Linked DNA regions of Homo sapiens: region 1 is linked to region 2. Evidence: promoter capture Hi-C in 16 types of primary human blood cells and fetal thymus (Javierre and others, 2016). All regions are on one chromosome and are shown on one strand. Each heading gives the region's core, a stretch centred on a gene start or on the middle of the fragment in contact. The rest is flanking DNA. Distances are from core to core; before and after follow the strand shown.

Evidence for each region. The method cuts DNA at HindIII sites, captures the fragments that hold promoters and counts their contacts. A CHiCAGO score of 5 or more calls a contact.
Region 1: a contact is called between a fragment that was not itself captured here and the fragment with the promoter of ERCC6L in region 2, in 1 of 17 cell types (naive CD4 T cells). The highest score is 6.0, in naive CD4 T cells.

Annotation. Positions count from the first base shown.
Region 1 is chrX:73,215,174-73,219,872 of GRCh38, forward strand. No RefSeq gene overlaps it. Among named protein-coding and RNA genes, the nearest start is that of NAP1L2, 2.7 kb to the left of the region's middle. The HindIII fragment of the contact is 1,584 bases long and covers 610-2,193 here.
Region 2 is chrX:72,235,510-72,240,425 of GRCh38, forward strand. It overlaps ERCC6L (ERCC excision repair 6 like, spindle assembly checkpoint helicase), which reads right to left and starts at 3,518. Exons shown (of 2, transcript NM_017669.4): 1 at 3,335-3,518. The coding sequence starts at 3,402. It also overlaps a transcript of PIN4 not described here. RefSeq lists an enhancer at 3,300-3,449. The HindIII fragment of the contact is 5,695 bases long and covers 1-4,916 here.

The DNA.
Region 1 (4,699 bases), core at 152-2,651, 980 kb after region 2:
ACAATGAGAGAAGACAAGGCACCCACCCATCCTAAATCAATCTCTTTGATTTTAGATCGGGGACCTGGGGAGGGGAGAGGTGGATGGTGGAAGAGCTGATAAACAAACGCTTCAAAGATTAAAAACACCAGGAATTAGCACTGATGGTCTTTAGGTGGCGTGTCAGTTATTTAAATATTCTATATTATGTTTGTCGGTATTTTTCACAAGCTATATGATTTTAGGTTGAAAAATTCTCGAAACATTTCCTGTGAGGGGAGGAGGAGGAAGTCCGATGGCAGTGGGGGCGAATGAGGGCCTGTGATGAAAAACTAGTATGGTGTATACAACTACGTGACTAGTAAACATACCAGACAATTAACCACAATTAACCAGTTGCCTGGCTTATAAATAACCCCAGTCCCAATACTGACTTTCTGCTTCTCCTTCTTAATGCTGGCTTTAACAGCCGTTAGAAATATACATATATACAAAAGCCAAAATGGAAAGTTATGTTTATTCTTAGAAATCATAACATTTGCTTGATGCTTTTGAGTTAATTGGAAATAATCTAAATCTCAGCATTAAAGAAATGGTTAAACTATTTGATAATGTATTTATAGGATGGAAAGCTTTGCAGTAATTAAAATTTCCTCTCTATAGTAATTATTGGTGAGGTTTATTTTGTTCATATTTCTAACTTGGATCATTTATTAATTGAACAATTTTTTAAAATTTTAAGTGACTATTATTTTCCAGATTTAAAGAATTTGTTACTATCACAGATATTAAAACTGTTTACATATTGTTGTATTTATTTCTAAATTCTGTCAGTTTATAGATAAATTTTTCCTTTAAGTGAAAATACCAGATACAAAAGAACAAATATTGTATGATTCTACTTTAATTAGGTATCTAGAGCAGTCAAATTCACAGAGACAGAAAGTAGAAACATGGTTTTCAGAGGCTTGGGGTAGGGAGGAAAGGAAGTTATTGTTCAATGTGTATGGAGTTTCAGTTCAAGAAAAAGAAAATATTCTGGAGATGTATGGTGATGATGGTTCACAGCAGTGTGATTGTACTTAATGCTCCTGAAATGTAGATTTAAAAATAGGTAAAATGGTAAATATTATGTTATGTATATTTTATCATAATATAAAGTGTAGAGAAAAATATTTTAAAGACCATATTCAATATAGTACTGGAAGTCCTACCCAGAGCAATTTTGCAAGAGAAAAAAATAAAGGACATACATATTGGAAAGGAAGTTGCTAATTTATATCCTTGTTCAAAGAAGACATGATCTTATATTTAGAAAAACCTAAAGACTCCACAAAAAAACTGTTAGAACTAACAAATTAAGTAAGTTTGCATGAAGCAAAATCAACACACATAAATTAGTAGCATTTCTGTACACCAGCAGCAGACAATTTGAAAAAATCAAGAAAACAATCCCATTTACAATAGCTACAAGAAAATAATACATCTAGGAATAAATTTAACCAAAGAAGTGAAAGATCTACGCAATAAAAACTATAAAAACACTAATGAAAGAGATGAAGAGAACCCCAAAATGGAAAGATATCCTATGCTTATGGATTAGAAGAATCAATATTGTTAAAATGTTTATACTACCCAAAGAAATCTACATATTCAATGCAATCTCTATCAAAATACCAATGACATTCTTCACAGAAACAGAAAACAATATCCTAAAACTTTTATGAAACTACAAAAGATCCCAAATAGCCAAAATGATCCTGAGCAAAAAGGACAAAGCTGGAGGCATCACACTGCCTGATGACAAAATGTACTACAAAGCTGCATGGTACTGTCATAAATACAGACGCAAAAAACCAATGGAACAGAATAGAGAACCCAGAAATAAACCCACACATTTACAGCCAACTCATTTGCAACAAAGTCACCGAAAACATACATTAGGGAAATGACAGACTCTTCAATAAATGATGCTGGGAAAGCTGGATATTTGTATGAGAAAGAATAAAACTGGACCCCTATCTCTCACCGTATACAGAAATCAAATAAAAATGAACTAAAGACTTAAATGTAAGACCTGAAACTATGAAACTACTAGACAAAACTGGGAAGATGCTTTAGGACATTGGTCTGAGCAAATATTTTCTTTTTAAGCCCTCGAAAGCACAGGCAACAAAAGCAAAAGTAGACAAATGGGAACACGTTAAGCTAAAAAGCTTCTGCACAGCAAAGAAAACAATAGGGTAAAGAGACAACTTACAGAATGGGAAAAATATTTTCAAAATATCCATCTGACAAGGGATTAATAACCAGAATATATAAGAAACTCAAACAACTCAATGAAAAAAACTCAAATAATTTGATTAAAAAATAGTAAAAAATATGAATACAAATTTCTGAAAAGAAGATACATGAATGAATGGCCAAGGTATATTAAAAATGATGCTCAATATTTCCAGTCATCAGGGAAATGCAAATCAAAACCACAATGAGATATAATCTCATCCCAGTTAAAATAACTATTATCAAAAAATAAATAACAAATGCTGGCAAGGATGCAAAGAAAAGGAAACTCATATACACTGTTGAAGGGAATGTAAATTAGTACAGCCACTATGGAAAACAGTATGAACATTTCTCAAAAAGCTTAAAATAGAACTACCATATGGTCCAGCAATCCCGCTGCTGCTTACATGTCCAAAAGAAAGAAAATCTGTATATTGAAAAGATCTCTGCGTTCTCATGTGTATTGCAGCACTATTAACAAGACCCAAGATATGGAATCAACCCATGTCCATCAATAAAAGAAAAGATAAAGAAAGTATGACATATACACGCAAAGGAATATTATTCAGCTATAAAAGGAATGAAATTCTGTCATTTGCAACAACATGGATGGAACGGCAGAACATTATGTTAAGTGAAATAAGCCAGGCACAGTAAGATGAATATCACATGTTCTCACTAATATGTGGGAACTAAAAAACTCATCTCATGCATATAGCGAGTAGAATAATGATTATCAGGCTGGGATGGGTAGAGTGGAGTGAAATGTTAGTTAATGGGTACCAAAATACAGTTAGATAGAAGGAATTAGTTCTAGTGTTCAACAGCACAGTAGGGTGACTATAGTTCATAATAATTTATTGTATATTTCAATATTGCTATAAAAGAAGATTTTGAATGTTCCCAACACAAAGAAATGATAAATACTTATTATTTGTCAGGTGATGGATGTCCTAATTACCCTGATTTGATCAATACACATTTTGTGCATGTATCAAAATATTACATGTATCCCATAGATATTTACAATTATTATGAATCAACAACATTTTTAAAAAAAAGAAACTCGGGCCAGATGCAGTGGCTCACACCCATGATTCCAGCACTATGGGGGGCCAATGTGAGAGGGTCACTTGAGCCCAGGAGTTTGAAGTCAGCCTGGGAAACATAGTGAGACTCCCATCTATGCAAAAAAATAAAAAATAAAAAATAGCCAGGCATGTTGGTACACACCTGTGGTCCCAGCTACTGGGGAGACTTAGGTAGGAAGATTGTTTGAGCCCAGGATGCCAAGACTGCAGTGAGCCATGATTGTGCCACTGCACTCCAGTCTGAGTGACAGTGAGACCTGTCTCAAAAAAATAAAAAGGTCCTATCAGTATATGCTTGGTAAAAAATAGATGTTCAATACACTTTTAGCAAATGAGTAAATAAATTTAAAAAATCCAAAACTAACAAGCAAAAATGTAAATAATATCTTAAGTAAAATGAGACCTAAGAAAAATGGGTGAAATATATATATGCAAAACACATATATAGATGCAAAACAAATAAATGATTAACATATAAAGAAAATTATCAATGGCTAAAATTAAAATGTCTAACAATTCCAAATTTTGGCAAAGATGTAGAGCAATTTGGACTCTTAGATATTACTAATGGGAGTGTAAACTGGTATAAAAACTTTAAAAATTGTTTGGCATTATCTATTAAATCTAAACACATGCCTCTCCTAGGATTCAGCAATGACCTACTTATGTAAATACACAAAAAGGCTTGTACAATAAAGTTCATGTCAGTTTTATTTGTTTTTAAAATAGTTCTACTTGGGCTTATTTTGTGTATCATGTAATGCACCCTTTTCAAGTGTGTGAATGAATGATTTTTAAAATTATATTTACCAATTGGAGGCAGAGCAAGATGGCTAAATAGAACTCTCCAGCAATCAATCCCCCTATGGGAACATTAAACTGAACAACTTTCCACGCATAAAATACCTTTATAAGAAGTAAAAAATCAAATGAGATATCAGAGTTTCTGGTTTTCGCATAATAAAAAGAAAAGATGCATTGAAGAGGGAAAGAAGAACAGTCTTGTGTTGCTTACACCCCCATCCCAATCCCAGGCAGTGCAGCCCAGAGAGAGAATCTGTACACTCTAGGGAGGGAGTGCAAAGTGAGTGTGGGACTTTGCATTGGAACTCAGTGCTGCCCTATCTCATAGTGTCATGGTGGAACACAACACCAGACAAATTTCCACAGGTTCTTCTGGATAGAGCATTTAGACCAGTCCTGAGCCAGAGATGAATCTACTGCCCTAGTGGGAGGAATTAAAGTCCTGGCCCACTTTATGACTGGCTAACTACAGTGGCCTTGGGCCTCAAATAAATTTCAGTGGCAACCAGGTAACTAGTGACTGAGATCCTTGGGCAAGT
Region 2 (4,916 bases), core at 2,268-4,767:
CTCAGCCTCCTGGGTAGCTGGGATTACAGGCGTGTACCACCACGTCCAGCTTATTTTTCTATTTTTGTAGAAACGGTTTCATCACGTTGGCCAGGCTGGTCTCGAACTCCTGACCTCAGGTGATCCACCCACCTTGGCCTCCCCAAGTGCTGGGATTACAGGCGTGAGCCACCACACCCAGCCCCTCTTCCACTTTTAAGCACCCTGTGATTACACTGGGCTCACCCAGATATTCCAATTTCCCTATTTTAGGGTCAGCTGGTTAGTGACCTTAATTCCTCTCTACCATATGAGGGTAACATATTCACAGGGTTCAGAAATTAGTATGTGGATATCCTCGGGAGGCCATTACTCTGCTTACCATACGAAGGCTATGGTCTTGCCAAGCCAGTATAATTAAGTGTGAAAGAGAAAAAAAATAAGTTAAAGTTGTATACAAGGAAGCCTCCACAATTATTGACTCTGAACTTCAAACTATGTAAGGAGAGAAGTGAGAACCTGAGGGGTGTGCAACAGTGAAAAGATGGAATCAATGAACTATAGGTCCCAACAATATCAAACATTTGTTGGAATTGGTATTCTAGAGGGAGTAAGGTAGAAGATGGAGAGTAGAATGCTTGAACGGTGGTGTAATAATGTAAGTGTAATAAAAAGTCTGATTCTGCTGGGCATGGTGGCTCACACCTGTAATCCCAGTGCTTTGGCAGCCTGAGTTGGGAGGATCACTTGAGTCTAGGAGTTCAAGACCAGCCTGGGCAACACAGTGAGACTTCATCTCTACAAAAATCTTTTTTTTCTTTTTTTTCTGAGACGGAGTCTTGCTCTGTTGCCCAGGCTGGAGTGCAGTGGCGCCATCTCAGCTCGCTGCAACCTCCGCCTCCTGGGTTGAAGCAATTCTGCCTCAGCCTCCCAAGTAGCTGGGATTACAGGTGCCCGCCACCATATCTGACTAATTTTTGTATTTTTAGTAGAGACGGGGCTTCACCATGTTGTCCAGACTGGTCTTGAACTCCTGACCTCGTGATGCACCTGCCTCGCCCTCCCAAAGTGCTGGGATTACAGGCATGAGCCACTGCACCCAGCCTACAAAAATCTTTTAAAAATTAGCCGGGCTTCATGGCACACACCTCTGGTATATGTTTATATGTACAGTAAGTCCTCAGTTAACGTGGTCAGTAGGTTCTTGGCAACTGCAACTTTAAGCAAAATGACACACAGCAGGCCCTTGAATGACACTGGTTCATTCAATATCATTTTGCTGCAACACTGATGAGAAAAAAATTGGTTTTGCTACGTCATTTCACTTAAAGTCAGTTTCCAAGAACCTATGGACAATGTTAAGTGAGGACTTACTGTATACACACGCACACACATCTTTGCTCACTCATGTAAGTGTATCTGTAGAAGAAAATACTACAAGTCTTAGCTTCAAAAGTAAAACTATGTATCTTAACTTTTGAATTGACTCATATAGCTCATCACACACCAGCCTGAGAGAATATAAATAAATGCTTACTCACACTATTGACTTTATTAAAATCTGGCATGGTTTTCTTGAATGGCAATTTTAAATACACATTCCCTAAGACCCAGCAATCGGAATTCCAAAGTGTACACTCAGTTACGAAGTGCACAAAAATTCACACAAAGGCTGCCTATTACAACAAAAGTATAATGGCAAACAATTGGAAAAATCTAAATGAAAGGCCTGGCATGGTGGCCCACGTCTGTAATCTCAACACTTTGGGAGGCCGAGGCAGGAGGATTGCTTGAACTCAGGAGTTTGAGACCAGCCTGGGCAACATGGCGAGACCCTGTCTCTACTAAAAACACAAAAAAAATACTTTGGGAGGCCGAGGCGGGCGGATCACGAGGTCAGGAGATTGAGACCATCCCGGCTAACACGGTGAAACCCCGTCTCTACCAAAAATACAAAAAATTAGCCGGGTGTGTTAGCGGGCGCCTGTAGTCCCAGCTACTCGGGAGGCTGAGGCAGGAGAATGGCGTGAACCCGGAAGGCGGAGCTTGCTGTGAGCCCAGACCGCGCCACTGCACTCCAGCCTGGGTGACAGAGCGAGACTGTATCAAAAAAAGAAAAAAAAAAAATAGCTGGGTGTGGTGGTGTGCGCCTGTGGTCCCAGCTACTCCGGAAACAGGTGGGAGGATCGCATGAGCCCCGGGGGATGGAAGTTGCAGTGAGCTGAGTTAGAGATCGCGCCACTGCACTCCAGCCTGGGTGACAGAGCCAGACCCTGTCTCTAAAAATATATATAAAACAACAATAGTAAAATAATAAATTGGCTGGACATGGTGGCACCCACCTTAAGTCCCAGCTACTAGGGAGGCTGGGGCAGGAGGACTGCTTGAGCCCAGGAGTTCGAGGCTGCAGTGAACTATGATCAGGCCACTGAATTCCAGTCTGGGCGACACAGCAAGACCCTGTCTCAAAAAAAATTAAAGCAGTAAAATTCACAGAGACAGAATAATGGTTGCTAGGGGCTGAAGGGAGGGGGAAATGGGGAGTTTGTTTAATGGGAGTAGTTTCAGTTTTGCCACATGAGAAAAGTTCTGGAGATGACGGACGGCTGCACAACAATATGAATGTAGTCAACACTACTGAACTGTACATTTAAAAATGGTTAGGATGATAAACTTTATTTTTCATAAAACCCAGTTTCTGCACAAAAAGATAAAATTTATGTTATGTGTACTTTACCACAATTTAAGAAAAAATTTAAATTCTCATCCCAACATTACCACGCCCCCCACCCTTAGCCAACTGGTGAATGTTTACTCATTTTTCAACGCCTAGCTCAAATGTCTCCTCTTGCCACGCCATCCCTTAGCTGACCACCCTTGTAGTTGGCCATTCCCTCTTTTATGCCAACACTGTGCCCTGCACGTACATTATACCTCTTACAGCACTTATCAAACCTAGTAATTATTGCTTTACAGATCCGTTTCCACTACTAGATTACAAACAATTTGGGGGCGGGGACCTTGTTTTACTCATCTCTGTATCCCCTAGACTTAGGGCTTGATAAGCTGAAAAGAATCAAGAAGGGCTTGATTAATTAAGGCTCCTCTGGCTTTTAAGGAGACCATACTGGAGGGTCATTTGCCCAAAAGAAGAGGCATCGGGGTCTCCTCAGGTTTTAGAAATCTGGTCAAACATCCAGAGCTGACTCCCACACCCTACTGCGAGAAGAGCGCGAGCGCGCGTCTCAAAAGGCTCCGCCTCAACAGTTCGGGTCCCCAGGAGGATCCGGGGGCCACCCCACCTCCACCCTGGGCCAGGTCGGTTAGCTAGACCCGCCCAGCGGTCCAGACATACCTTAGGTAATGAGCAGCCTGCTCTGGGCTCAAGGCCTCGGCTTCCGGAAACCTTCGGGATGCCTCCATGACCCTCGGATTGGGTTCCAGTTACCCCGGCGGGAGTTTGGAGCTTGGAGCTTGGAGCTTGGAGCTTGGAGCTTAGAGTTTGGAGCTTGAATTTCGCTCACTCCCGCCCCGCGCATGCTCTGTGCGCCGTGGAGAGGGACACAGCCAACCGACGGCCTCGCGGCCGGCCAATCCGCGACCACGCGCTGCGACGCCTCCGCCTGAGCCCCGCCCATGACGGTGGGCGCCTGCGCCTACGCGCGCCGGGAAGCAGAAGGTGATCTCTGCCTTCGAGACACGGAGTGTGCTGCCTCAGTCTGTGATCCCTCGCGTTTCAATCCAATTCAAACCATGCTGCAGCCAATTCGTTCGCGCGTGCGTGTGCCATCATTGTGAGTGGAGGAGACTGCCCGATATGATCCCAGTCATTGCGGCGACCCCTGGAGATCTCCAACGCCTGCGTCCCCCAACCATACCCTGCCCCGCATCCACAGATATCTTCCCTTCCTTGATCGCCAGTACCTGGCACTGACCGTGCTTTGAATTCAAACACCCTGGGAGGCATAGTCCCTGTGATTTAAACTAACATTGAAGAAGCGACCAGACGCGGTGGTTCACGCCTGTAATCCCAGCACTTTGGGAGACCGGGGCGGGCGGATCACGTGAGGTCAGGAGTTCGAGACCAACCTGGCTAAAATGGTGACACCCCGTCTCTACTAAAAATACAAAAAATTAGCCGGGCGTGGTGGCGGGCGCCCGCAGTCCCAGCTACTCGGGTGGCTGAGGCACGAGAATCGCTTGGACCCAGGAGGTGGAGGTTGCAGTGAGCCGGGATTGCACCACTGCACTCCAGCCTGGGTGGCAAAGCGAGACTCCATCTCAAAAAAAAAAAAAAAAAAAAAAAAGGCTGGGTGCAGTGCCTCACGCCTGTTATCCTAGCCTTTTGGGAGGCTAAGGTGGGAGGATCACTTGCACTTAGGAGTTCGAGACCAGCCTGGGCAACATGGTGAGACTCCCGTCTCTTTAAAAAAAATTTTTTTCTTCTCCACAGGGCGTTATGCTGTATTTATTTTCTTAAAAAGAGAGAGAGAAAGAGAGAAGGGTCTTCAAGAATCTCAAACCCTGGAGGTGGAGGCTGCAGTGAGCCAAGATCATGCCACTGCACTCCAGCCTGGGTGACAGAGAAAGACTCCATCTCAAAAAAAAAAAAAAAATTAAAGTTCTTATTTAAGAAATAAGTAACTAGGTTCACATACTTGGTATAATAAAAGGAAGACAAAAATAATTTAAAAAAAAAGAAGTAGTGCTGTGGTCATCATTTCTTCAGAAGCACCAACTAAGATACAGTCATTTTCAAATGCAGAGCCTAAAAAGAAGGCAGAGCCTAGAGCTTAAGGAAATGTGATTGAGTTTAAGTGGCTTGCTTGGGTGACACTAAATAGGAGGTTGTGGGCCAACAAAAATTGTCCTTGTTCATATACTGTTAAGAACACAGACATGACTCCTCAAGACACTAATTTAGCATTCAGTATTGG